7 separate regions of the Homo sapiens genome follow, and regions 1, 3, 4, 5, 6 and 7 are each linked to region 2. The links are contacts of gene promoters, found by promoter capture Hi-C in blood cells and fetal thymus (Javierre and others, 2016). All regions are on one chromosome and are shown on one strand. Each heading gives the region's core, a stretch centred on a gene start or on the middle of the fragment in contact. The rest is flanking DNA. Distances are from core to core; before and after follow the strand shown.

Region 1 (3,987 bases), core at 1,321-3,820, 1.3 Mb before region 2:
AAATAAATAGAAATAAACACATGCTCAAATTTCAAAAAAGGAGAAATGCAGGCCGGGCGCAGTGGCTCATGCCTGTAATCCTAGCACTTTGGAAGGCCGAGGTAGGCGGATTGCCTGAGCTCAGGAGTTCGAGACCAGAATGGGCAACACAGTGAAACCCCATATCTACTAAAATACAAACAATTAGCCGGGCGTGGTGGTGTGCGCCTGTAGTCCCAGCTACTCGGGAGGCTTGAGGCAGGAGAACTGGTTGAACCTGGAAGGCAGAGGTTACAGTGAGCCGAGATCATGCCACTGCACTCCAGCCTGGGCGACAGAGCAAGACTCCATCTCAAAAAAAAAAAAAAAAAAAAAAAGGCGGAATGCAGATCCAGAAAAACATCTGTGGGTAAACCTGCTATGTAACTGCTGAAAAATTCTAAAATGGATAAATAAGTTTTCGAATACAGTAAAATGAGAAAGCCACCATCAGCTCTTTATTAAGGCAGGCTATACAACATGTGCTTTTTATTTAACAGGATTACTAAAATGGAAAAAGGGAGGATGACAGGATGATATATACACATAACAATCTAACAAGACAATCTGAAAGAATCTTTTAAATAATAGGCTGGTGAACAAAATGGGAAAATGTTGAACAGCAGAAGCTCGAAAATCTGTTAAATTCAACTAACAGGATGCATAGCTAGTTGAACATCTGGTTGACTAACGTAACAACATCAACCAAGTTGGTAGAAAGTCTCCAGTAATATGTCGCAGGGTTCCATCCTTTTTCACAATCTAGACAACTTCTATTAATTTAATGAAGCCATAGAACTGCTCTTCATATTTGCAAGTGAAAAAAACCTGTGAGTGACCCAACACGCACAGCCTGACCGAATCAGCTCCAGAAAGCTCACAGTAGGCTGAAATGATGGTCCAAAACCAAAAATGAATATCTACAGGGAATCGAGGGCTGTATTTAGTTTTAAAACTGAAATAGGCCGGGCGCGGTGGCTCACGCCTGTAATCCCAGCACTTTGGGAGGCCGAGGCTGGCAGATCACGAGGTCAGGAGATCGAGACCATCCTGGCTAACACGATGAAACCCCATCTCTACTAAAAATACAAAAAATTAGCCGGGCATGGTGGCGGGTGCCTGTAGTCCCAGCTACTGGGGAGGCTGAGGCAGGAGAATGGCGCGAACCCGGGAGGCGGAGCTTGCTGTGAGCAGAGATCACCCCACTGCACTCCAGCCTGGGTGACAGAGTGAGACTCCGTCTCAAAAAAAAAAAAAAACGAAATAGGCCAGGCACATTGGCTCACACCTGTAATCTCAACACTTTGGGAGGCCGAGGCAGGCGGATCACCTGAGGTCAGGAGTTCAAGATCAGCCTGGCCAACATTGTGAAACCCCATCCCTACTAAAAATACAAATTAGCCCGGCATGGTGGTGGGCGCCTGTAGTCCCAGCTACTCCGGAGGCTGAGGCAGGAGAATCACCTGAACCCAGGAGCCAGAGGTTGCAGTCAGCCAGGATTGCGCCACTGCACTCTAGCCTGGGTGACAAAGTGAGACTCCATCTCAAAAAAAAAAACATGACAGAGTAAACTTCAGTTTGTGGGGGGATACCTAGATAATAAAAGCTACTAAACAAACTGTGCACAATTTCGAGCTGCATTAACAGATGTGTGTGTCCAGACTGTATTAACATGGTTCTCAAACTTACCAACTAAAAAAATTTTTTTTCCATATGAATCGTTCCCAAATCTTCATCCTAAAAAGTTACAATAAGAATCTACAAGTATCACTTAGTTAAAACTCTAGCTTTAGACCCAGTTATTCAAGTATATCTTACTGCTAGAAAACATTTTATTTGATCAGCTTAATTTATTGACATTTATATCAGTGATGAATACGCTTGAAAGAAGACTCAGATATTACTAAATCCAAGTCTCTTTTTTAAAAGGAATGGAAACTAAGAGAAATTAAGTAACTTGCCCCAAATTACACAGCTGCTTAACAAGGACCATGACCCCTAGATCAGTCCCCTTTTTCCCACACTGCATGTCACCCACCCCTCCTCTTCAATGCATAGTACCCCAGGGTGACTAACTGAGCCCCAGGCTTCACACGCACACACACCACACAAAAACACAGGTTCACTTCTCCGGCCCTGGGACTTTCCTGCCCATACCCGAGGTCACTCCAAGCCCCTACATTCCATCTTAGAACCCAAAGAACACACACACACACACACACACACACACACACACACACACAGTCGCTCTGCATCACCAACCCACATCCTCAAGGGTATCCATCCCTCTATTTCTTTTATTTCCTTTCTTAAAACTTGAACTATGCAAGTTAGAAAGTACACACAAAAACATCCCATCAAGACACACTATATTTTGCTAAGAACGAATTAGCTTAGCAAGAACAAATACCCGCGACACATTAGCTGGAAAAATATTGACATGGTGCGATCACTTACAAGTTTGATAATTAATATTTGTTACATAAAAAGGCACTCTAATATACAACTGGTTTTTATTCTTAAAGTATGATTATGTAATAAAGCATTACCCCATATCCCGTTCAACATCAGAAAAATAACAGAAAAGTTTTTTCACGGATGGAAATGCTTTTAATGGACATGCCATTGTTTACTGTGCTCAAAACTGCCATTCCCCTCATAAAACATTACCATATGAAAATTATTAAAAGATTTAAGGCCTTCAAACCTAAATAGCGGGCCAAAGGCTTGCTTCATTTAGGGTAGCATAAGCATCTGCGCTGAGACTCTCTTGCTCCTTCCTCACTCTTCCAGAAATAATGCCCCTTCAAGAGCCCAAAAGTATAAAGGTTGTCCGGCAGATTCCCAGTGGCCTTATGTTCCTCCCTCCTCCCCCTACTCCGCCTTGGTTTAAAGAAGACAAGAGAAGGCTCCAGAATTGATAAAAGGGCAAGTTAGCAAGGATGTGGCTTATGATCACTAGCATCTGCTAGGCCAGCTCCAAGAAGACCCTCCACTCAAAAAATGAGACCTGAATGCCTGTCTTTGCCCCAGGGCCATAATCCTTGTGCGCCTCTGGGACCCCTTTAGAAATGAAGAGGAACTTTACTGCTGGGACCCTCCTCCCCAGTGTTATCCACTAAAGCCTCAGCAAGCTCTTTGTTTCCAACAGCTGTGGGGGGGCAAGCGGCCTTGGAGAGAGGGGAGAGGTCACTCCCTTGCTCCCCGCTGCTGCCAGAATCCAGGCCCTCCCGCAAAACACACACACACAGGCACGACATCTTCCCTGGGACCCAATTCTCTCTTTCCACACTTTAATAACCCAGGGTTACACCTTGCTACACAAGGGCATTCCCTGAGACCTAATTTCCTCTTTCTACATCCAAACCCTACACAGGATGATGACTCCCAAGCCTCCTCCCCTTTGAAAAGACATAAATGGGGTTCGCTATAGGGCACCCATCCCTCCTCTTCAATGCATACCCCAGGGTGACTAACTGAGCCCCAGGCTTCACACACAACACACAAAAACACAGGGTCACTTCCTGGGCCCTGGGACTTTCCCCGCTCATATCCACAGACCCGAGGTCACTCTAAGCCCCCAGATCCCATCTCAGAACCCAAAGAACACACACGCGCGCGCGCGCGCACACACACAGTCACTCTGCATCGCCAAACCGCGTCCTCAAGACAACCCGTTCCCTTTATCCACACGACCCCCACCCCCGAGACCCCCAGTGCCTTAAGGAAGAATCTCCCCAGCACATCAGCACATGGTCACTCCCCTGCCCTCACCCCGCCCAGCCCCCTCGCCGTCTCCCACCCACCGCACTCTGCACACACACACACAGATCCCTGCCTGGGGCCGCCCTCCCTCCCCTCAGCCTTCACAACACAAACACACGCTCCCGCGAGCACACCCACGACCACACCGGGAGCCCCGGCCGGCCGCTCAGCCTCGCCGGCCCCGGCCCCGGCCCCACCGCCTCC
Region 2 (4,140 bases), core at 109-2,608:
ACAGAAACTACGCAGAAGAGTAACAGCAGAGCGAACGATGGACTGGAAAGCAAACAGCCTGAAGAAAAGGGTTAAGTAGCAAATGCAAAGCAGTAGAAAGGGAAAAGGAAAGAGCTTATGAGAAAGCTTTCAAGCAGAGTTTAAAGTCTGGCATATGACTAGAGAGAGAAAGAGCATAAGAAAAATCCAAGATGACGCTGACGTTTCTGGCTCTGAGTAAATGAGTGTACAACAGTGCCATATGGAAGTAAGGAGATATAATTGAGAGTGAGAGAGCTGAGCTGAAAAGAGACTAAGTTTTGTGTAGGACGAGTTATCTGTAGGACAGATTGCTTATGGGGCCGCCAGATGGAAATGTGAGTGCAAACCTCAGGTCCAGAGACACCAGTTTAATGACATCGGTTTTCTCAAAGTTATCTCTGACTCTATTCCAGTTTGTTAACTTTCCTTTTTTAAGAGTAGTGCCCTAAACTGAGCAACGAGAAAAAAAATGTCGCCTTCCTCCCAAAAGGCCTTTAACTACTCCCACGGCCACGTCACTAGAAGCTCATTTTGCCTTTGTCAATCTTCACATGCTAGGGTCTCCACCCCAGAATCAGCGAGGTTCTGGGTCCTATCTCCGAGTCTGGAAGCGAACGAACTGCAGGGTTCCTTACCTCTGCCGGACAGTGGATCCCGCCGCCCGGGCGGCCACTGCTTTGCTGGGAGAGCGCCCTGAGGATCCCACGTTAGTGCCACTGGGGGTCGGACCAGGCTGTAGAGGGAGACAAGCAGACAGACGGGTGAGCGCGGCAGGCCTGCCCCAGAACCCCGGCCTAGACACCCACACCCGAGGCTGGGGGAAGCAAGGGAGCTACAGAGGAAAAGCACGGCGCAAAGCAGGAGGAGTCAGGGCTTCTGGGAGAGGCGGGGATCATGGAAGGGCCGCCATACCATATTGGAGATGAGGGTGGCAAGGCGCTGACGCGGACGGATAGAAAGTTACGGAGCCCCCGAAAGACCGGCAGCTGGCGAGACTGACTCAGGCCCCGCCCCCGGACTTGCAGGCAAGGTCCTCTCTGACCCCAGGGACGCCTGGGTCGTCTCACGATATGCCTGTAGACAGTCTGCTACAGACAACTTAGTTACCTGCTGTATGGGAAGTAGAGACCTCCGGCCTCCTTCCTTTGGATCACAACGTCCTTCAGAAAGTCCAATCCCTACCGAAGGAAAAATATAACCGGGGTCAGACAAGATATTTTCTCAGGCAGTTACTAGACCCTCACAGATTTGCGCTGATGTGGCCTAACTGACGCACGTACGGCAGGGCGGGGTCGGCCCGCAGTGGCCAGCTGGGAGCTACGAGCGCGGAGCTTGCGCAGAAGACCCCCATCAGGGTGCGGGGTGCAGTTGCGGCTCCAGGGCCATGGCGGAGGAGCAGGGCCGGGAACGGGACTCGGTTCCCAAGCCGTCGGTGCTGTTCCTCCACCCAGACCTGGGCGTGGGCGGCGCTGAGCGGCTGGTGTTGGACGCGGCGCTGGCGCTGCAGGCGCGCGGGTGTAGCGTGAAGATCTGGACAGCGCACTACGACCCGGGCCACTGTTTCGCCGAGAGCCGCGAGCTACCGGTGCGCTGTGCCGGGGACTGGCTGCCGCGAGGCCTGGGCTGGGGCGGCCGCGGCGCCGCCGTCTGCGCCTACGTGCGCATGGTTTTCCTGGCGCTCTACGTGCTGTTCCTCGCCGACGAGGAGTTCGACGTGGTAGTGTGCGACCAGGTGAGGCGGCCGCGGGGCCGGCTGCGCGAGTGCGGACCTCGCCGTGGAGGGCGGCCGCGGGCATGACCCCTGAGAGAAGACCTTCCCTGTCTGCGGTTCGCAAAGATCGGAACTGACATGGAGAAGTCAGGGTTGTGAGCGAGCCTGTGGTTCTCTAACTTTAGTGTGGGCCCATTTAAAGTTGCAGATTGCTGGGGTTCCATCCTCCAGGAAGTTTTCATCCAGGTGCCCTGAGGTGGGGCCCAGACATCTGCATTTTAACTGGGTCATAGGGTGATTCCGAGGTAGATAGTCTTTGGGGCTCTGAGAAACGCTGGTATTAGAAGTCAGCTTCAGTCACCTTTTACTAATGAGTAACTCGCGTGTTGTCTTCCCGCTTACCTGTTATTTTTGTTGACTCTCCTTTCAGGCCATTTGCATCCCACTGTCCTTGTGTTCGGAGCCAGGCCACACCGTCCTCAGCAGTGTCATGTGTTAAAAACGCCAAGCTGAATATATCATGCCCCTATTAAAACTTGTACATGGCTCCCCATTGGTTTTTGGAGAAAAGTTCAAGCTTTTTACCTTGGTAAATAATGTCCACCTGGATCTGCCCTGTAGCTATTCTTGACTCTTTCCTTCGTGCATTTTTCCCCATCCTAAAAAAGATGACTTTAAAAAGTAACATTTACTCGATTAAAAATTTAGTAGTATAGAAGGATGTAACCTAAAAGCCCCGTCCTATTCTACTCCCTGAAGATAGCCACCGTTAAGTTTCTCTTGTATTTTTTCAGAAGTTGTGGTGACACCAGCCTGTGTCTTTTCATAGGTATATCTATATCTTCTTATTGGTACATAATTGGTATTATGACATACCTACTATTAGGCATCTTTTTCAGCAAAAATTTATTTATTTATTTATTTATTTTGAAACGGAGTCTTGCTCTGTCTCCCAGGCTGGAGTGCAGTGGCGCGATCTCGGCTCACTGCAACCTCCGCCTCCAGAGTAGCTGGGAGTACAGGTGCGCGCCCCACGCCCGGCTAATTTTTTCTATTTTTAGTAGAGATGGGGTTTCACCATGTTGGCCAGGCTGGTCTCGAACTCCTGACCTCGCGATCCGCCCACCTCGGCCTCCCAAAGTGCTGGGATTACAGGCATGAGCCACTGCGCCCAGCCGGGACATTCTTATGTATCAATATTAGAGATTCACTTCATTCTTCATAGTGGCCAGAAAATCCACTTTTGTTTAAGTGTGTCATAATTAAACATTCTCCTTAAAGGACACTAATGTTGTGACTAGTTTTTTGTGAATAGATCAGTGTTGTAATGAACATCCTTTTACTTCTTTTTTTTAAAATATTTTTGTACTTCTGCAAATATGTCGTTTGAGGAAATTCCTAAAGTTGGTGGGTCTAAGAGTTGTTCATTTTAAATATCAATAGCTACTGCCAAGTTTGCCTACCAAGGAGGCTGTGTCACTTTACTCCCCCACAATGTATGATAGAGCCTCTTACTCCATGCTTTTGTCCGCCTTGGATATTAACCATTTTAAACTTTGCCAAACTGATAGGTGCAGATGGCATCACATTTGTATTTGTGTTTCTTTAATTATGACTCCTGAGTTACTTTTGATCATCCTTGCTTGCATGGAAGCTTTCTTTTTAAGTAACGTGGACATTTACCAAACATCCTGCATGTGTCAGTAGACATGAGGCAGCTGAGACTATAGTGGGTAGAGGAAAAATTATTGGCTTGGAAATAGGCATCTTGGATTCAAGTTCCGTATCTACTGCTTTAATTAAGTGGCTTTGAATAAATTGCACATTATCCCTAAAGTTACCTTCTTCAGGTTTTAAGTTAGCTGAGACTAAAATGACTTGTAAAGATTACCCAACAAGAAAGTCTGTAGTAATGCCAGCATGTAGTTCATGCTCAATGATGACTAGCTTTAATATTTATTGAGCACATACTGTGTGCTAAACTCCATGTGTTTTGCATATATCAGTGCATTTAATAATCACAAAAAGTATATGGGTTTTTTGAACTATAATTTGTCACCATGTTACAGAAGAGGAAACTAAGGCCCAGAGTGGGATAAATTACTTGATCGTGGCCAGTTAGTAGAGCTGAGATTCAAACCCTGGCAGTCTTGAATCTAGAGCTTGTGCTCTAAACTACTATAGTTCATTCATTCAGTTCCTTAGAAGGAGAAAGATCCTAGAGCGGCACTGTTCAGTATGGTAGCCACTAGCCACATGTGGCTGTTGAGCACTTGAAATGTGGCTAGTCTAAACTGAGATGTGCTAAAGTTAAAATACAAACCGATTTTGAAGATGTAATGTGAAATATATGTATATATAAAGTATCTCATTAATACTGTTTAGTATTGGTTACATTTTGAAATGAT
Region 3 (3,654 bases), core at 1,114-3,613, 1.2 Mb before region 2:
AAAGTCTGAGAAATTTTCACAACCAAGAGGGGTATAGAAGACATGATGATTACATTTAATGTGCTATTTCGAATGGGACTGTCCAACAGAAAAAGGACATTAGGCAAAAATGAAGAAAATCTGAATAAAATATGGGCTTTAGTTAATAATAATGTATCAATATTTGTTCATTGATTGTGACAAAGATACCATTCTAATGTAAGATATTAACAATAGAGAAACTAGGTGTGGGATATATAGGAGTACTCTGTTCTATCTTCACAGTTTTTCTGTAAATCTAAAACTACACAAAAATAAAAAGTTGATTTTTAAAAATTGGCTTCTATGTTATAGACACCCTTAACAACACTAAAAGACAAAATCAAAACAATGATGTACTATTTTCAGATACCAGATTGACCAAAATGTAAAACTGTTTGGAAAAAATGGGTTCTTTCATGGAAGTGTAAATCGATAGGAGCTTTTTAAAGGGCAGTTGCTCTCAGAATGTTAAAATGTGTATTCCTAGGTATCTAGAGAACGACTACTTTCACATATGCAAAAAAGGGCATGCACAAGGGTTTCCTAAAGCATCATTAAACCTAACTTCTATCAAAAAGGAAATGATTAAATAAGCTATGGAATAGTCATATTTAGAACACCGTATTTCGGCCGGGCGCAGTGGCTCACGCCTGTAATCCCAGCATTTTGGGAGGCAGAGGCGGGCGGATCACGAGGTCAGGAGATCGAGACCATCCTGGCTAACACGGTGAAACCCTGTCTCTACTAAAAATACAAAAAATTAGCCGGGCGTAGTGGCGGGCGCCTGTAGTCCCAGCCACTCAGGAGGCTGAGAGAGGAGAATGGCGTGAACTCGGGAGGCGGAGCTTGCAGTGAGCCGAGATCGCGCCACTGCACTCCAGCCTGGGCCACAGAGCGAGACTCGGTCTCAAAAAAAAAAAAAAGAACACTGTATTTCATTAACTCGAGGATGTGACCCGCTATAGCCTTCGTTATTTCATACATCATTAAGAAAGAAAAATGATCCTAATTAAGCTATGACACAAAGCTTTCTTGCCATTTATAATTTTTATTTTATACTTATTGAAAAAGCTAATTAAGGCTTAAGACATCTTTAGTTCCATATTATCCTTATGCATAAATTAAAAGGATTCATGAAATAAATTGATTACCATATAGCTAAATCCTCTTCTCAGAGTCTGAACCTTCTGTATAATGTTTAGACTCAGAATCATCAATATGCCAGGCTGCTAACCTCCATTCTGCAAGTTTTGATGCATACCCAGCAGGCAATGACAACCACATCACTATTGCTGCCTTGCTAGCTGACAGCAACTGTAAGATGCATACCAATCTGAGAGATCATAAAATGTGAATAAAAAAGTGTGCCTTAGAAACAAGAGTATTTTGCAGCAGCTAAAGGAACTGAGGAATTCTAATTCATATTGCTAAGAAAAAATAGCAAGTTGCAAAAAATAATATGCAGTATAAGCACATTTATGGAAAAAAGCAAAATAAACCTCTATGTTTGTGGGACATTCCCTGAAAATTTGGCTACTCAAATTTTCTTCCTTTTTTTTTTTTTTTTTTTTTTTTTTTTTGATACAAAGCCTCTCTCTGTCTCCCAGGCTGGAGTGCAGTGGCGCGATGTCGGCTCACTGCAACCTCCGCCTCCCGGGTTCAAGCGATTCTCCTGCCTCAGCCGCCGGAGCAGCTGGGACCACAGGCTCGCACCACCATGCCCGGCTAATTTTTTTGTATTTTTAATGGAGATGGGGTTTCACTATATTGGCTAAGCTGGTCTCAAACTCCTGACCTCAGGTGATCCGCCCACTTTGGCCTCCCAAAGTGCTGGGATTACAGGCATGAGCCACCACATCCGGCCTCAAATTTTCTGTACTTGAAAATTCTATACTTTAGATACTTGAAATTACCTTTCAAGTATCTATAGAATGGCATGATAAGGGGGACCTCACAGCTCCCCTTTATTGTGCCATTCTATACTTTAGACACTTGAAAAGTAACTTTCCCAGACTCCTGTTGAGAGGTCAACTTGATAAAATTCCTGTCAATGAGTAGCAGGCGGGTATTCCCTTAGGCTCCTTTTCTTGAATGAAAATATAAAACTTCACAAGAAGATGACTTTTGGCTTTTCTTATCTAGTACATGCACACAATTCCTCGAGAAGCAGCAATCATCTTATGACCACAAGGACAAAAGTCACATGCTGGGAGTGGTAAACTGAAAGATAGAAGGACCCTAAGCGCCTGAGAGCATTGTTGAGCTGAGCTGCCATGCACTCCCGCTGTGCGCTGCCTGCTCCTGGGCTTCTTTCCTCTCCTTTTCTTTGTGTGGTAAAATATACATAAAATTTACCATTTTAACCATTTTTTGGTTTTGTTTTGGTTTTGAGGTCTTGCTCTGTCGCCCAGGCTGGAGTGCAGTGGCGCGATCTCGGCTGACTGCAACCTCTGCCTTCCGCGTTCAAGCGATTCTCTTGCCTCAGCCTCCTGAGTAGCTGGGATTACAGGTGCGCGCCACCACGCCCAGCCAATTTTTGTATTTTTAGTAGAGACGGGGTTCCACCACGTTGGTCAGGCTGGTTTCGAACTCCTGACCTCGTGATCCACCCGCCTCGGCCTCCCAAAGTGCTGGGATTACAGGCGTGAGCCACTGCGCCCGGCCCATTTTAACCATTTTTAAGTGTACAGTTCAGTGGCATTAAGTGCATTCACATGGCTGTGCAACCATTTTCACCATCCATCCAGACGTTTTCATCATCCTCAACTCTGCACCTGTTAAACACTAACTCCTCATTTCTGCCCTACCTGCAGCCTCAGGTAACCATTATTCTATTCATCTGTCTTTGTGTATAATATTTGACTATTCCAGATACTTCATGTAACTGGAATCATACAACATGTGTTCTTTTGTGTATGTTTTTTTTCACTTAGCATAGTGTCTTCAAGGTTTGTCCATGTTGTAACTTGCATCAGAATTTCACTCTTTTTAAAGGCTGAATAAGGTTCCGTATATACCACATTTTGTTTATCATTTATACGGGGACATTTGATTTGTTTCCCCCGGGCTTTTGTTTGTTTGTTTTGTTTTTTCAGGGTTTTACTCTGTTGCCCAGGCTGGAGGGCAGTGGGGCGATCACTGCTCGCTGCAGCCTCAACCTCCCAGGCTCAAGCGATCCTCCAACCTCATGATAATGGTTATAATAGCACTTGCCATTTACTGGGCTTTTTCTGCGTACCAGGCAGTGCGCTAAGCCCTTGATACATACGACGTCATTTAATCTTCACAAAATCCCTGTGATGCACACAACTACAATCAACTACATTTGATACAGGTAGCGATTGAAACTTGGACAGATAACTTGCCCAAGGCCACACACAGTCACACCAGACACTGGAATCTGGATCTGTCTCACTGCAAAGCAGCAATTCTTGACCACTAAAGTAATTGAAAAAAAAAAAAAGCAAAATCAATAGACTCGATGTGAGCAGTAAAAGACGCATCGTGTGTAAACTAAGGTCAGTCTCTGACGGGTTCTCTTTGAGTACCCCCGGGACACCCACTAAACGGCCCCAAGAGCGCTAACCCCACAGAGCCCTAGAGGTTTTCCTGCTCCTATCCCATCCACGTTTT
Region 4 (3,659 bases), core at 1,004-3,503, 1.1 Mb before region 2:
AGGTGGAGGTTGCAGTGAGCCAAGATAGTGCCACTGTACTCTGGCCTGGGTGACAGAGTGAGACTCTGTCTCAGGAAAAAAAAAAAAAAGAACAAAATGAGCCTATCAGTTCCAGGAAAACAAATGGCATTTGTTGCCAATGATAAAATTTGAGCTTTCAAGCAAAAATTGATACTTTAGTAAACTTCTGTCTACCACTGTGAATTCTGTCCTTAGATTTACTACCTTTTTGCTCTTCATGTTTTTCATGTATCTCAGTCCTCCCTGGGATCATTTAGAGTCTTCTTTAGTTCGTTTTTTTCTCCCCCCATAAAAATGTATTTCTCTCGCATTTCTGAAGAATGTTTTAGCAGGGTTAATATTATAGATTTGGCAGTTATTTTCTTTGAGCACACTGACAATAATATTTTACTGTGTCCTGGTTTCTATTGTTAAGAAGTCAGCTATGAGTCTTAACTGTTGATACTTTAAGAGTTATCTGTGTTTTTTTTTTCCCCCTAAAGTTTTTCTTCTTGTCTTTCATTTTCTGCAATTTCACAGTGATGTATCCAGGTGTGATTTTCTTTTCTGTTTATTCTGCTTGGGATTTAGTGGATATCTGAGATCTTGAATCTTGAATGAAATGTCTTTTCATCGCTTCTGAAAAACGTATTATCTTTTAAACATTTGCCAATTTCTCTTCTTCCCTTTCAAGACCAATTTAATGCATGTTACATCTACTTACTGAATCCTCCACCTATTTTTTAATCTTTTATCTCTTCCAGTTTTTAATTCTTTAGTTGTATTCAGTTGTAGTCAAACATAAGTCCATTGAATTTTCATTTTTTATTTTTCAATTCTAGAATTCTTTCCAGTTGTTCTATCACCGTTCATTGGAAAGACTGTACTTTATCCATTAAATTTCCTTTGCTCATTTGTCAAAGTTCAGTTGACTATTTTCATGGGTCCGTTTTGGGACTGTGTTCCATTAATTTATGTATGTTTATTGTTTCACCAATACCATCTTATCTTGCTTATTGTAGCTTTATTGGGAGTCTTGAAAATGGGGAGTGTGAGTCTTCCAGCTTTGTTTTGCTTTAGTGCATTTTTTTGTTGTGGTTTTTTTTTTTTTTTTTTTTATGATGGGGTCTTCTTATGTTGTCCAGGCTGATTTTGAACTGGGCTCAAGGGATCCTCCCGCCTTAGCCTCCCAAAGCGTTGGGATTACAGGCATGAGCCACCATGCCCAGCTTGTTTTGCTTTAGTCTTATGTTTGGTATTCTGGGTCTTTGACCTTTCCATATAGACTTCAGAATCATTTTGTCAACAATTACAAAATAGCTTGCTAGAAATTTGATTTGGATTGTGTTGAATCTATCTATAGATTAGTTTAGGAAGAATTATTCCTTAAACTGCTAGAATGATGCAGAACTAGGATTCAGGTTTATCTTGACTTATTTTTACTTTCCTGGGAGAGAAACCTTTAAGGGCCAAGCTTAAGGTAGGGATGTTGTCCGGGCACAGTGGCTCACACCTGTAATCCCAGCCCTTTTGGAGGCCGAGGCGGGTGGATCACTTGAGGTCAGGAGTTACAGACCAGCCTGGACAACATGGTGAAGCCCCATCTCTACTAAAAATACAAAATTAGCTGGGTGTGGTGGCATGTTCCTGTAATCCCAGCTACCCGGGAGGCCGAGGTGGGAGGATCGTGCCACTGCACTCCAGCCTGGGTGACAGAGCAACACTCTGTCTCAAAAACAAAAAAACAAAAAACAGGTAGGAATGTCTTGGTAGGCCCTAGGCTTTGACTTTTGACTTTCTTTTCTTGTGGGGCCACTAAAAGGTTGCCTTAGTTTTGCAGCTTTTTTCTTTGGAACTGGCAGTTGCCCTCAGGACTAAACCTTGAGTGCTGGAATCTTGCACTTCTAGTTATTTTCAGCAATTTTTTTTTTTTTGAGATGGAGTTTCGCTCTGTCACCCAGGCCGGAGTGCAGTGGCATGATCTCGGCTCACTGCAAGCTCCACCTCCCGGGTTCACGCTATTCTCCTGGCTCAGCCTCCTGAGTAGCTGGGACTACAGGTGCCTGCCACCGCGCCCGGCTAATTTTTTATATTTTTAGTAGAGGTGGGGTTTCACCGTGTTAGCCATGATGGTCTCGATCTCCTGACCTCGTGATCCGCCCACCTCGGCCTCCCAGAGTGTTGGGATTACAGGCGTGAGCCACTGCGCCCGGCCTGTTTTGAGCAATATTATAATTACCTATACTACCTTTACTGGAAGTTAAAGTTTCATCAGAGATCTGCCTTCCTCCTAGAATTGTTGGTTGGTATATTTAGTCTTTGAAATTTCTGTATATGTTATTGGAGGAGCAGAAGGAACTCTCCCAAGTTTGCAGATGTCCATTGAGACTTTCCGGATTGTAATAGATTATGCTGCCTGAGATAAACTTACGGTAAATTTTCCAAAGCTCTACCTGTGGGGAAGAAATGTTGCAATTCTATCCCAGTGTTTACTGTCTCTTTTCTTAATGATAGGATTCTTAATTTTCATCTGAATGTATCACTACACAAAATAAAAAACAGATTTCCCAGTTTTCTTTGCAGCTAGGAGCAGTCATATGGGTAATTTCTATTAAATAGCTCAGACTTCTTCCAGTGTCAGACTTGTACATTGAATTATCTGTTGGCCATCTCCGTCTGGATTTGATTATGATACTTTAGGCTCAACATATCCAACGTAGAATTAATTTCTAGATCTCTCTGCCCCTTTTTCTTCATCATCTCTGAATTTAGTCACTACTGTTAGAACCCTTAATGATTACTCCTCCTGTCTCCACCATCTTCAGACTCACATATTTGTATATATTTAAGCATATTTCAAATCTGGCTAATTTTTCTTCTTTGTAAATGCTCTCCTTCTCCCAGTTCATACCAGTATTGACCCTGGTTCTTGGACTTGCCATCTCTTGTCTGGAGTGCTGCTTCTTTGTTTATAGGCTGTAACTCATTGTCCTTTTCGTATCCACACAATCATGTCTCTGAAAGAAGCTTGCAACCATGTTATTCCCTTGCTTACACAATTAATTTTGATGTCTTTAGCCTCTGGCTCTTTGTAACCTGGTTTCATTTTACCTTTCCAGGCTCATTTGTCGTTCCGGGTCTTAACATTTGATGCTTGATAATGCCAGATTTCTTTTATTTCCCTTCTCATGTATTTGTGGTTCCTCACTACTGTGCCCTTGCTCAAGACTAACTAGGATTAATCTTTTCCTTTAAAATTGATTGGCTTGAGATATTTATGGCTTTAGTCAAATTTACATGTTTCTTTTCTGTTTTTTAGTGATAGGGTCTCTCTTTGTTGCCCAGGTTGGAGTGCAGTTGTGTGATCATAGCTCACTGTAACCTCAAACTCCTGGGCTTAAGTGATGCCCCTGCCTTGGCCTCCTGAGTAGCTAGGACTACAGGCACTTGCCAGCATGCCTGGCTTATTTTATTTTTATTTATTTATTTTTTTGAGATGGAGTTTCACTCCTGTTGCCCAGGTTGGAGTGCAATGGCGCAATCTTGGCTCACTGCAAACTCCGCCTCCTGGGTTCAAGTGATTCTCCTGCCTCAGCCTCCCAAGTAGCTGGGATTACAGGCATGTGCCACCACACCCGGCTAATTTTTTTTTTTTGTAT
Region 5 (3,736 bases), core at 441-2,940, 1.4 Mb before region 2:
AAAGGTTATCACATTTGTCTCTTCTCCTCCCACCCCATCTCCCCAACTCACTGGAATCTGGCTGCTTCTACCCACTCCACTCAAACTGCTCTCAGCAAGGTCCTCAGCGACCTTGTCATGCACCCCAATGAACACTTTTCCATGCTGCTCTCTCTGCAGCTCCTGACACATCTATCTGAAACTGCTGCAAATCCCTCTGTCATCCACAATGCTCACACTCCCGGTTTTCCAAACTCTCTGATCACTATATTTGCCAGAAGTGTGTCTTCCTTCCCCTGCCCATTTCTGTTGGCTCCCACACACATGCTTCCTGGTTAGTTGTTTTTTTTTCACACTCCACACTTTTATGGGGTGAAGATCTCCTTAATGCCATTGTTTTTGCCTTGCTGATGACTCCCAAATCTGTACCTCTAGTCTAGATCTTTCCTCTGAGCTTCAAACTCCTGGCTATCCCACAGGCACCTCAGACTTAGCACCCCCAAAACATATCTTTTCCAGCAAACCTGCTTCAACTTCTGTACACTTTCTTCTTTGTCCCTCTTCTCACTGGATAACATCATGTGCTGTCTCAAGCCAGAAATCCAGGAGCCACCTTAGACTCCTCCCTCTCCATCATGCCCAGCTGTGGGCTGGCTTCCCTAGGAAACAGACTCAGAGATATTGTAGGTGGCTTATTGAGTGATGCTCTCATGAACAGCACCTGTGAGGGCTGAAGGATGAAGGACAGAGACAAGGAGTTGAACACTTAGTGAGGTTTAAACCGGGGCCTCAGCCAATGCTATGGCAAGCTCTGGACCCAGGAAGGTCCTTCAGAGCTGTTCCACGCTGAAGCCAGAAGCCACACACATATCCCTCAGTCAACCCGTCACTCAATGTGGGCTGCTCTCAGGAGGGGGCATGACCTTGGGTGAGGTGGCTTTCTCTGCTGAGGGCAATTCCTGGAGACAGACTTGGGCGAGAGCCATCAGCCGTCAAAACTCCCAGCATCTGGAGGGATGAGTGCCAAGTCTTAGAGGGAATGTGATTGTCACCATAGAACCCACTACATCCCTCATACTCGGTCACCAAGTGTTTTATCTATTTCTACATTTTAACTTTCAAATAAAATCCCTCCCTTTTCAGACTACTCTATCTGAGGCACCATGGCAGGGACAGAGCAATGGGCTGAGCAGACACGGTGCCAGTGCTCAAGAGGTTTACAATCTAGCTGAGTGAATAACCACCTAAATATATATTTTTAAACTACAATAAGTGTTCTTATTGTGTAACAGGGGAGGCTTTCCCTGTCAGGGAGTGACGTAGAGGCAGGGAAAGCTTTCCTGAAGAAGTATCATTTTCAATGGAATCTGAAAGATGAATAGAAGTTAACTAGGTGTATTCTTAGTTGGTTGGGAGGGGAGTGGGAAGAGTGTGGACAGGCAAATGGAATTGCCTATGCAAAGGTCCTAAGACAGGTGGGATAAGGCATTGGAGGACCTGAGAGGCCAGTCTCTGGAATGCAGAAACTGAGGAGGAAGAATAAGAGATGAGGATGAAGTTAGGCACGCAGGAGCCAGATCTTGCAGAGCTCATATTTGAGCCTTTTTTTCCTAAAAGTTATGAAAGCCACTGGATGATTGTGATCTCTGTGTAGTAAAAATGCTATGTCTTAGTTAAGCAGAATATGCAACTGCCCACAATCAAAGTCGATAAAATGGATCATATACATCTACAAAATGGTTTCAAGTTAAATTCTGTTAATGTTAAATGCTAGGGGCAAAAAAAAAAATGCAATGCAGATACCACTATTACAATAGCCTCCTTCTCTATCTCTAGAGGCTACTTGTAGTCCCTCTAAACAATAACACCTATTTTTGACTGCTTACTAAATGCTAAGTTTGCTAAGTGCTTTCCATAAAATATCTGGCTTAATATAACACCTTTAGGTGGGTACTATTTAGAAACTGGGTTCAGATAATATAATTTGCCCAAGTTCTCACAGTCAGTAAATGGCAGACACAAGCCAATTTTCCAGTTATAAAGCTAAAGCTCTTGATTGTACATTGAAATACCCCACCTAAGCTTTTGGAAACACTCAACTTCACAACTTTCAGTATCTCCATGCTGCCTTCAACTTCATTCCACCATGCCCTTCGCAGTAGACTCCCTTTGTAAATCAATGCCAACCTGATGCAAGCACAGGTTTGGAATACACACACCCTTAACACCATACAACAAACCACAGCTACCTTTTGAGGGCCACCACTAGAACCAGGACACTTTCTCCTGGCTCATCCCACCTGATACTTTTTCTCCTCCTTACCAACCCATGATTTTGATGCTCTAATCTCTGGCAGCTGAACCCAGTTCTAATTAATACATGCTAATATATGCTAGATAAATGTAAATTTACCTGAATAAGAGCCAAAGAAAAACAGAGGCAAATCCACTATAGTATTCTACTAATCATCCAGTTTGTCATTTTCTATGTTAAACCTCCCCCTCTATTCTTAATCAACAGTGGATAGGTTCCAAACTGCCTGTGCATAAACAATTATGAAAATATCCACTAGATGTCAGCCTTGAGCTGCAGTGAGGCTTGGGGAGCGGACATGGAATGGAAAACTCTTGGGAGTTTGGGTGATTTCCTTTGCAGTGTAAACTAAGGCAGGAACTGTAGTTAGCTTTTTGTATGAACACAATGGCTGGATTTTTTCAATGAGTATAAATACAATAAATTGGATCATGTCGTTCTTATTAACACGTTCCCATGGGTCCCCTTCTTATTCAGAGTAAAACCCAAAGTCCTTAGAACAGCCTGTGACACCCCACTGCTCCCACATTTCCCACCTCACCCATTTCAACCACACTGTCTCCTGAACACAACTGAAACTCTTCCTAGAAACACCTGAATGATTGACTATCAGATTCAAACATTCTGGTCACCTTACCAGAGGCCTTCCCAGACACCCTTTCTAAAATAGTGGCAGCCTGCACCACCCCCACTCATAATGCCCTGCCCCCTTACCTGACTTCTTCTTCACAGCACTTATCACCACCTAACATAACTATATTTGCTAGTTACTAGTCTTTCTCTGGAATCTCTGAAAGCAAGGGCTCTGTTCACTACTTTACTCCCAGAAGAGTGCCAGGCTTACATGAGGTGCTCAAAAAAATACTCATCAAATAAATGATCCTAATTCAAAGATATTCAGAGAAGAGGCCATAGTTCAAAGAGGCATTCATTTGTTTTCATTCAGTAGATACTTATTAAATACCTATTATCTTATTAATGAGAAACACAGTAAGTCCTTTGCACTTACAGAATCTCAGAGAGAATGCACACACAATTTTAAAAGGCTTTACAAAGAGAGAGATATTTGGGCCAGGTGTGGTGGTTCATGACTGTAATCTCAGCACTTTGGGAGGCCAAGGAGGGAGGATTGCTTGAGCTCAGGAATGTGAGACCAGCCTGGGCAACATAGTGGACCTCATCTCTATTAAAAATAAAGAAAAAAAAAATAGCCAGGCATGGTGGGCATGTGCCTGTGGTCCCAGCGGTCCCAGCTACTTGGGAGGCTGAGGTGGGAGGATCACTTGAGCTTAGGAGATGGAAGCTATAGTGAGCTATGATTGCACCATTGCAATCCAGCCTGGGCAACAGAGCAAGCCCCGCCTTAAAAAAAAAAAAAAAAAAAAAAAAAAAGCCGGGCACGGTAGCTCATGCCTGTAATCCCAGCACTTTGGAAGGCCAAGG
Region 6 (3,677 bases), core at 817-3,316, 1.0 Mb before region 2:
TTCCCTATTTAATAAACAGTGCTGGGAAAACTGGCTAGCCACATGTAGAAAGCTGAAACTGGATCCCTTCCTTATACCTTATATAAAAATTAATTCAAGATGGATTAAAGACTTAAATGTTAGACCTAAAACCATAAAAACCCTAGAAGAAAACCTAGGCAATACCATTCAGGACATAGGCATGGGCAAGGACTTCATGATTAAAACACCAAAAGCAATGGCAACAAAAGCCAAAATTGACAAATGGGATCTAATTAAACTAAAGAGCTTCTGCACAGCAAAAGAAACTACCATCAGAGTGAACAGGCAACCTTCAAACTGGAGAAAATTTTTACAATCTACCCATCTGACAAAGGGCTAATATCCAGAATCCACAAAGAACTTAAACAAATTTACAAGAAAAAAATCAAACAACCCCATCAAAAAGTGGGCGAAGGACATGAACAGACACTTCTCTAAAGAAGACATTTATACAGCCAACAGACACATGAAAAAATGCTCATCATCACTGGCCATCAGAGAAATGCAAATCAAAACCACAATGAGATACCATCTCATACCAGTTAGAATGGCGATCATTAAAAAGTCAGGAAACAACAGGTGCTGGAGAGGATGTGGAGAAATAGGAACACTTTTACACTGTTGGTGGGACTGTAAACTAGTTCAACCATTGTGGAAGACAGTGTGGCGACTCCTAAAGGATCTAGAACTAGAAATACCATTTGACCCAGCCATCCCATTACTGGGCATATACCCAAAGGATTATAAATCATGCTGCTATAAAGACACATGCACACGTATGTTTATTGCGGCACTATTCACAATAGCAAAGACTTGGAACCAACCCAAATGTACATCAATGATAGACTGGATTAAGAAAATACAGCACATATACACCATGGAATACTATGCAGCCACAAAAAAAAGATGAGTTCATGTCCTTTGTAGGGACATGGATGAAGCTGGAAACCATCATTCTCAGCAAACTATCGCAAGGACAGAAAACCAAATACCGCATGTTCTCACTCATAGGTGAGAATTGAACAATGAGAACACTTGGACATAGGGTGGGGAACATCACACACCGGGGGCTGGTGTGGGATGGGGGAAGCAGGGAGGGATAGCATTAGGAGATATTCCTAATATAAATGATGAGTTAATGGGTGCAGCACACCAACATGGCACATATATACATATGTAACAAACTTGCACGTTGTGCACATGTACCCTAGAACTTAAAGTATAATTAAAAAAAAAAAGAAAATCATATATTTATGTTTATAGATGCATACATGTGTATGCCATGTAATCTTTTATAAAAGTTATAAAATTATTCCCAGCCTATATTATAACTATGTTAAATTATATATATAGAAAAAGACTGGAAGAGAACATGGACAAATAATAGTCATGATTAACAGATGGATTTGTGGGTGATCTCTTCATCTTGTAAACTGTTGTTTTACTTATGTTTACAACAAAGAAGAAATACTCTAAATTCTTTGGAGCAAACAATATAGAAAAGACAGAATTTCTACCTCTTTGTCTTGAATGTTAGGGTCTGCATTGTTTTCCATGAGAACTGCCATGCAGTTGATATAGCCTCCATATGCTGCACACTGCAAAGGGGTTCTTCCTGCATAATCCTGGACATTTGGATTGATCTTATTTTCTATTAATATCTGGCAAACATCAGCATTTCCTCCCAGTGCTGCCCAATGTAGAAGAGAATGTCCATCTTGGTCAACTAGATCTACCCTTGCTCCACCTGGAAAAGCACAAATATAATGAGAATGTCTAATATAAATAGCTTTTATTAAAATGAGTAGGAGTAGAAAAAACAATTGTTCCTTAAATGCATTTATTAAAATGAATAGAAGAAAAACAATAACAATTGTTCCTTTAATGCTTTATTCTTATGGAAATGCTTCCACATACGTTGTCTACATCAGATTTTTACAATAAGCTTGTAAATTGGACTGGCTAGGAATCAGTCCCCCTTTATATAAAATAAAAGTGAAGATCAGGCAGGTGAAATTACTTTTCCTGTATCAAGCAACTCCCAACAAGTGGAGCTAGGAGTAGAACTTGAGGTTCCTCATGCCATGTTGTGTGATCATCCCTTCATCCTTGTACTTGTGCAGCTTTCTGCTAAGGAAAGCTTTATCTTAAACAGAGTATGCAAGAATTCCTACCTGTTAAGAGAGACTTATTAGGAGTACTCTTATTAGCCCACCTTTAATGAGTGTCTGAATCACATCTTTGTGTCCCATCTCACAGGCTCGGAAAAGTGGAGTATGTTTCATAACATCAGTAGCATCTACTTGAGCATTATTTTCCAGTAATAACTTCACGGTGCTGACATGGCCAGAAAGAGCAGCAGCATGCAAAGCTAAAAGGGAACCAACAGAAAGTGATGAACTAGTCAATAACAACTTCACCTTTTAAATTATTATATGTCTTTTCCTCTCTTGATTTCCCCATCATTTTGAATAAATGCAATCTCCATTTTAAGGATTCACTAATTTATTTTTTGCTTTTTTAGATTCTGCCTTCCTTCCTATTCATATGTATTACTCACACTTTCTCCTTTCCTTCTACCTTTCTCTTCTTGCTATTTTCTTCCTTTCCATCCTGTTGGTCTGAAATGGTATCCTCTTCTCAGCTACTAGTTTTCTCTTTTCAGCTATTAGTTTTCTCTTTTTCTCTTTAAGAGAGCAAGAAAACAATAACAAAGAGGAATGATTTAAATGATGTACACAATTCTGCCCAACAACCCACTCAATAAGCATATGCCCCTAAGGGGTCATGTGACTGGAGACATCAATCTACTGTTCCTTCCATTGGTTACATGCACTGTTCCTTCAGTTGGCTGAAGTACCCCAGTGGTACTGAAAGCACGCACATCTTGCTGCATTGAGTGCATTTTTAATACAATATCAGCTACAAGCCAGCTACTTCCCCAGGGCTCAATTTAAGAAACAGCGAGGTGGCACATGTCTATAGTCCCAGCTACTTGGGAGGCTGAGGCAGGAGGACTGCTTGAACCCAATAGGTCTAGACCAGTCTGGAGAAAATAGAAAGACCTCATCTCAAAAAAAGAAAAGAAAAGAAACAGGAATTTGCTTCACTGGAGAAAAACTGAGATGGAATATGGCCTCCTCTCTTGTGCTGTCCAGAGGTTTTAAAGAGTAATTTTGATTAAATGTGTTTCATGTACACTGACTCCTCTCTATGTTACTCCAGTGTAATGCTTGGCTTATGCCATCCCTCTATAGGTTTGAATTAGCCACAATAACACTTTAGAGGCCTTGGCCAGTTCTAAGTATTATGGCTCTATAAGGCCTAGAACAATGTCTCTTTCATAAAGGGTGATCCACAGAGCAAACCTGGATGCAGATTTTTGGGCTGGGTAGTATTATAATGCTGGGTGTTTAGCAAAGAATACAATAGATAAGGTTACATTCTAGGAAGGGAAGCAAAACAAAACAAAAACAAAACAAAACAAAACAAAAACAAAACAATTCCCCATCAATAAAGTTATTATATAGTGATAATTGGTATAATTAAAGTAATAAAAACTATTTTGATATGTAGAATCACTGAGGGACTACTTTTGATTGGTGGTTATGAGCTGACATTTAAGTTGAGACCTGAACCATGAAAAAGACAGCGTA
Region 7 (4,140 bases), core at 47-2,546, 1.1 Mb before region 2:
AAGAAATCAGTACTAAGAGGAACTTTACAAATGATGCAAATACATCGTTTTGCATTAATGTATTGCAAAATCAAACAACATACACCTGAACGATGACGTGCTCTTGAGCAATCATTGAGTCACTGAAGAAATTAAAATAGAAATTCAAAACATTTTAGAAACAATTGAAAATGGAAACAAATCATACTAAAACCCATGAGATACAGGAAAAGCAGTGCTGAGAGGGAACTTCATAGCATTAAATGTCTACATCAAAAAAGGAGAAAGATAACTAATCAGCAACCTAACGTTGCACTTCAGGGAACTAGAAAAGTAAGAACAAACCAAGCCCAAAATTAGCAGAAGACAAGAAATAACAAAGATTAGAGCAGAACTAAATGAAATAGAGATCAAAAAACAATACAAAGGGTCAACAAAATGCAAAGTTGGTTCTTCAAAATGATAAGATTGATAGCCGGTAGCTAGACTAAGGAAGAATAGTGAAGATCCAAATAGACAAAAAAAGAAATGAAAAGGAGACATAACAACTGATACCACAAAGACTGTTACAAACAACTATATACCTACAAACTGGAAAACCTAGAGGGAAAATGGATAAATTCCTGGAAACATACAACTCCCCAAGGTTGAACCAGGATGAAACAGAAAATCTGAACAGACCAATAATGAGTAGTATGGTTAAATTGGTAATAAAAAAATCTCCAGGCCGGGCGCAGTGGCTCATGCCTGCAATCCCAGCATTTTGGGAGGCTGAGGTGGGAGGATCACGAAGTCAGGAGTTCAAGACCAGCCTGAGCAATATGGTGAAACCCTGTCTCTACTAAATATACAAAAGTTACCCAGGTGTGGTGGCATGCATCTGTAGTCCCTGCTACCCGGGAGGCTGAGGCAGGAGAATTGCTTAAAGCCAGGAGGTGGAGGTTGCAGTGAGCCTAGACAGTGCCACTGCACTCCAGCGTGGGTGACAGAGCGAGACTCTGTCTCAAAAAAAAAAAAAAAAGAAAAATCTCCAAAGAACAAAAAGCCCAGAACCAGATGGATTCACAGCTGAATTCTGCCAAATGTACAAAAAAGAGCTAATACTCATTCTCCTGAAATTGTTTCCAAAAATCAAGGAGGGAAGAGGGAATTCTCCTTAATTCATTCTGTGACACCAGTATCACGTGATACCAAAACCATACAGGGACACGCTGAGAAAAGAAGGCTACGTTCCTATGTGTGTGTCTCTTTTTTTTTTTTTTTTTGGAAACACAGTTTCACTCTGTCGCCCAAGCCGGAGTGCAGTGGCACAGTCTCAGGTCACTGCCAACCTCTGCCTCCTGGGTTCAAGCAATTCTCTTGCCTCAGCCTCTTGAGTAGCTGGGATTACAGGTATGCACCACCACACCTGCTTTTGTATTTTTAGTAGAGACGGGGTTTCACCATGTAGGCCAGGCTGGTCTTGAACTCCTGACCTCAAGTGATCTGCCTGCCTTGGCCTCCCAAAGTGCTGGAATTACAGGTGTGACCCACTGTGCCCGACCCTATTCTTTATTTCTTAAATTTTTTTCTTTTTCTTTTTCTTTTTTTTTTTTTTGACCAAGTTTCACTCTTGTTGCCCAGGCTGGCGTACAATGGCACGATCTCTGCTCACTGCAACCTCTGCCTCCCGGGTTCAAGCGATTCTCCTGCCTTAGCCTCCCGAGTAGCTGGGATTACAGGCGCTTGCCACCATGCCTGGCTAATTTTTGTATATTTAGTAGAGACAGGGTTTCACCATGTTGACCAGGCTGGTCTTGAACTTCTGACCTCAGGTGATCCACCTGCCTTGGTCTCCCAAAGTGCTGGGGTTACAGGCATGAGCCACCATGCCCGGCCACTATTTCTTAATGTTGAAAGGTGCTTGTCCAGTGAGAATGCAAAATTATGTCATCCTAAGTAATTTTGATTTCATTTTTTCATGAAGTAATATTCTCTCCTGGCTAATTTTATTTTTTGTTAGCCAGTTTTGACAGTGTTGTCAACAGGGTAGTCTCTAGGTTCAAGTTACAACCTAATCTTTTGTTGTTGTTGTTGGTATACCAATGAATTTATTTACTTGATAAATTCATTTTATTTTGAATTACCTTCATGTTCTTCCTATCTCTAGGGACTATATCTTTTATAGATATTTAACTTATTTCTCTCATGGCTTTGTTTGACTCTGGTCACAATGCTAGGGTCATGCCAATGACATCCTCTTTTTATTACCCATAGTGCCTGGTACTGTGTTTACTTATAGGTCTTGAAATCTTACGTTTATTTTAGGTTTTCAGCTTGCTTTTATCTCTCAGGGTCTGTATGGTGACTTGTAAATTCTCAGGGAAAGCTCAGCTTCTATACGGTTATGGTAGCACATGTAACTTTCTTGGTATGATACTTGGGGAGAGTTCAGGTAGTCTCCTATTTGTGAAAGAGGAGATTATATTAGAGTAGTTATGGCAGACCAGTTTTCTGCAAAAAACAGTGGAGAATGGTATTTAGAAACCAACATGTGGAATTTAGGTGTGCTTATTGCTGTTGGATGTTGCTTCTCCCGTATCCTCTTATTGGACATAAAGTAGTCATTCAACACCACAGAGTTTATTCTAGTTATATCCTGTTTCTTTTTTGTACCTGCTTTCTCTGATAGAAACCTGGCTCCAGTTATACTTAATATATTTACTTGATCAGCTTCTCTGTCTATAATTAGTCTTCCTTTGCTGCCACCCCTCTCATCTCACTCCATTTGGGCTCTGGTTCTTTCGGGCTGTCTACTCTGGGCCATCTCAGCACTCCCACCAAATCCAGTGCCAGAGTTTACCTAGTTTGGCTCCAGCCATTGGCTTTAGAACTGAATTGTTTAGGGCAGCAAGGGGAGGCAGAAGGGAAGTGATGAAGTGGTCATTATTGAATGTGCACTTTTCAAATGTGGTTTGGATTAATAAAAATATTCACCATGTTTGTTTTGGAGTAGGAAGATGGCCTTGGAAATGAGTTTTTTCTCATTGTTACTTAATGGTATAAAAGAAGTTACCAAGTAAAATATCTGGGTAATATCTACAAGATATTTTACAGAGAAATAATGTATAGATCTGTTGATTCCCCCCCCCACACACTCTCAAATCTGTAAATAACAAGTATAAAAAGTCTTGATTTTTCAGGGCTAGATGACAGCTCTCTTGAACTTAACTGACTGATCTCTTCCTAGAGTGATATTCATCCTTCTACCATTCTTGTTTTTTCATGTGATGTTTTTACATATTTCATTTTTGGTAGTATACTGTATCAGATTCTGGAGTTTGTGCTGTGACTGATATCTGTGAAGGACTTAGTACTGTTCTTGACTCTTCTTGTTTTTCTGAGAACTTAGGAAATTAAAAATACTAGGGGTTTTACTTCTAACTCTCTACTTTTTGTGCAGATTTCTTTTTTACCTTTAGAGAAGGCAGTGTTATGATTAAATTGAACAGGATATTTGTATTTTCTGGGTCATAAATATTTTTCTGTGATACATTTCTCTATCAGGTGGGCAAAAAAAAGCTTTTGTTAGCCCTTTGTTCATATCACTCAGATCTTTCTGTCATAGCACTCAATAGAAATACAGTATGCCCTCACTTAATATCCTCAGTAGGTTCTTTAGGAAACAGAAATGACATACACGGCAGGTCCTTGAATAACACTTATTTTTTGGAGACAGTGTCTCACTCTGTCATCCAGGCTACAGTGCAGTGTCACCATTATGGCTTACTGCAGTGCAGCCTCAACCTCCTGGGCTCAGGCGATCCTCCTGTCCCAACCTCCTGAGTAGCTGGTACCACAAGCATGTGCTACCACATCTGGCCAACTTTTTTTTTTTTTCTAGATGAGGTACCACTATGTTGCCCAGGCTGGTTTCAAACTCCTGGGCTTGAGCAGTCCTCCCACCTTGGCCTCCCAAAGTACTAGAATTACAGTCATGAGCCACCAGGCCTGGCTGAAAAACGTTTCTTAATAATGTTGATTGGGGGGAAAAAATGATTGCATTATACATTGTTTTGCTTAAAGTCATAGTTTCCGAGAACCTGCTGAAGTTGTTAAGTAGAGGACTTACTGTGTGGTCTCCATGTTGGTAGATTGTAAGCCACTTGAGGGGTATGAGAA

The links. Contacts are between HindIII fragments. The CHiCAGO score rates a contact against its expected background, and 5 or more counts as called.
Region 1: a fragment that was not itself captured here is called in contact with the fragment with the promoter of ALG2 in region 2 in 1 of 17 cell types (fetal thymus); the score reaches 5.9 in fetal thymus.
Region 3: a contact is called between a fragment that was not itself captured here and the fragment with the promoter of ALG2 in region 2, in 9 of 17 cell types (fetal thymus, non-activated CD4 T cells, activated CD4 T cells and 6 more). The highest score is 11.8, in fetal thymus.
Region 4: a fragment that was not itself captured here is called in contact with the fragment with the promoter of ALG2 in region 2 in 1 of 17 cell types (fetal thymus); the score reaches 6.1 in fetal thymus.
Region 5: a fragment that was not itself captured here is called in contact with the fragment with the promoter of ALG2 in region 2 in 10 of 17 cell types (fetal thymus, naive CD8 T cells, naive CD4 T cells and 7 more); the score reaches 15.7 in fetal thymus.
Region 6: a contact is called between a fragment that was not itself captured here and the fragment with the promoter of ALG2 in region 2, in 1 of 17 cell types (erythroblasts). The highest score is 5.1, in erythroblasts.
Region 7: a contact is called between a fragment that was not itself captured here and the fragment with the promoter of ALG2 in region 2, in 1 of 17 cell types (M2 macrophages). The highest score is 5.5, in M2 macrophages.

What each region holds. Positions count from the first base shown.
Region 1 is chr9:100,473,990-100,477,976 of GRCh38, reverse strand. All of the region lies in intron 1 of MSANTD3-TMEFF1 (MSANTD3-TMEFF1 readthrough), which reads right to left. All of the region lies in intron 1 of TMEFF1 (transmembrane protein with EGF like and two follistatin like domains 1), which reads right to left. Among named protein-coding and RNA genes, the nearest start is that of TMEFF1, 2.8 kb to the right of the region's middle. The HindIII fragment of the contact is 6,579 bases long and covers 1-3,987 here.
Region 2 is chr9:99,219,160-99,223,299 of GRCh38, reverse strand. ALG2 (ALG2 alpha-1,3/1,6-mannosyltransferase) reads left to right here and starts at 1,358. Exons shown (of 2, transcript NM_033087.4): 1 at 1,358-1,753. The coding sequence starts at 1,406. SEC61B (SEC61 translocon subunit beta) reads right to left here and starts at 1,018. Exons shown (of 4, transcript NM_006808.3): 1 at 934-1,018; 2 at 657-754. The coding sequence starts at 936. RefSeq lists an enhancer at 949-1,268. The HindIII fragment of the contact is 2,183 bases long and covers 129-2,311 here.
Region 3 is chr9:100,411,866-100,415,519 of GRCh38, reverse strand. No RefSeq gene overlaps it. Among named protein-coding and RNA genes, the nearest start is that of MSANTD3, 13 kb to the left of the region's middle. The HindIII fragment of the contact is 2,626 bases long and covers 1,051-3,654 here.
Region 4 is chr9:100,331,096-100,334,754 of GRCh38, reverse strand. All of the region lies in intron 5 of TEX10 (testis expressed 10), which reads left to right. Among named protein-coding and RNA genes, the nearest start is that of TEX10, 20 kb to the left of the region's middle. The HindIII fragment of the contact is 1,553 bases long and covers 1,477-3,029 here.
Region 5 is chr9:100,594,613-100,598,348 of GRCh38, reverse strand. No RefSeq gene overlaps it. Among named protein-coding and RNA genes, the nearest start is that of CAVIN4, 18 kb to the right of the region's middle. The HindIII fragment of the contact is 747 bases long and covers 1,317-2,063 here.
Region 6 is chr9:100,250,998-100,254,674 of GRCh38, reverse strand. INVS (inversin) reads right to left here. Exons shown (of 17, transcript NM_014425.5): 9 at 2,237-2,392; 10 at 1,539-1,768. Among named protein-coding and RNA genes, the nearest start is that of TEX10, 100 kb to the left of the region's middle. The HindIII fragment of the contact is 195 bases long and covers 1,969-2,163 here.
Region 7 is chr9:100,310,950-100,315,089 of GRCh38, reverse strand. All of the region lies in intron 11 of TEX10 (testis expressed 10), which reads left to right. Among named protein-coding and RNA genes, the nearest start is that of TEX10, 40 kb to the left of the region's middle. The HindIII fragment of the contact is 4,493 bases long and covers 1-3,542 here.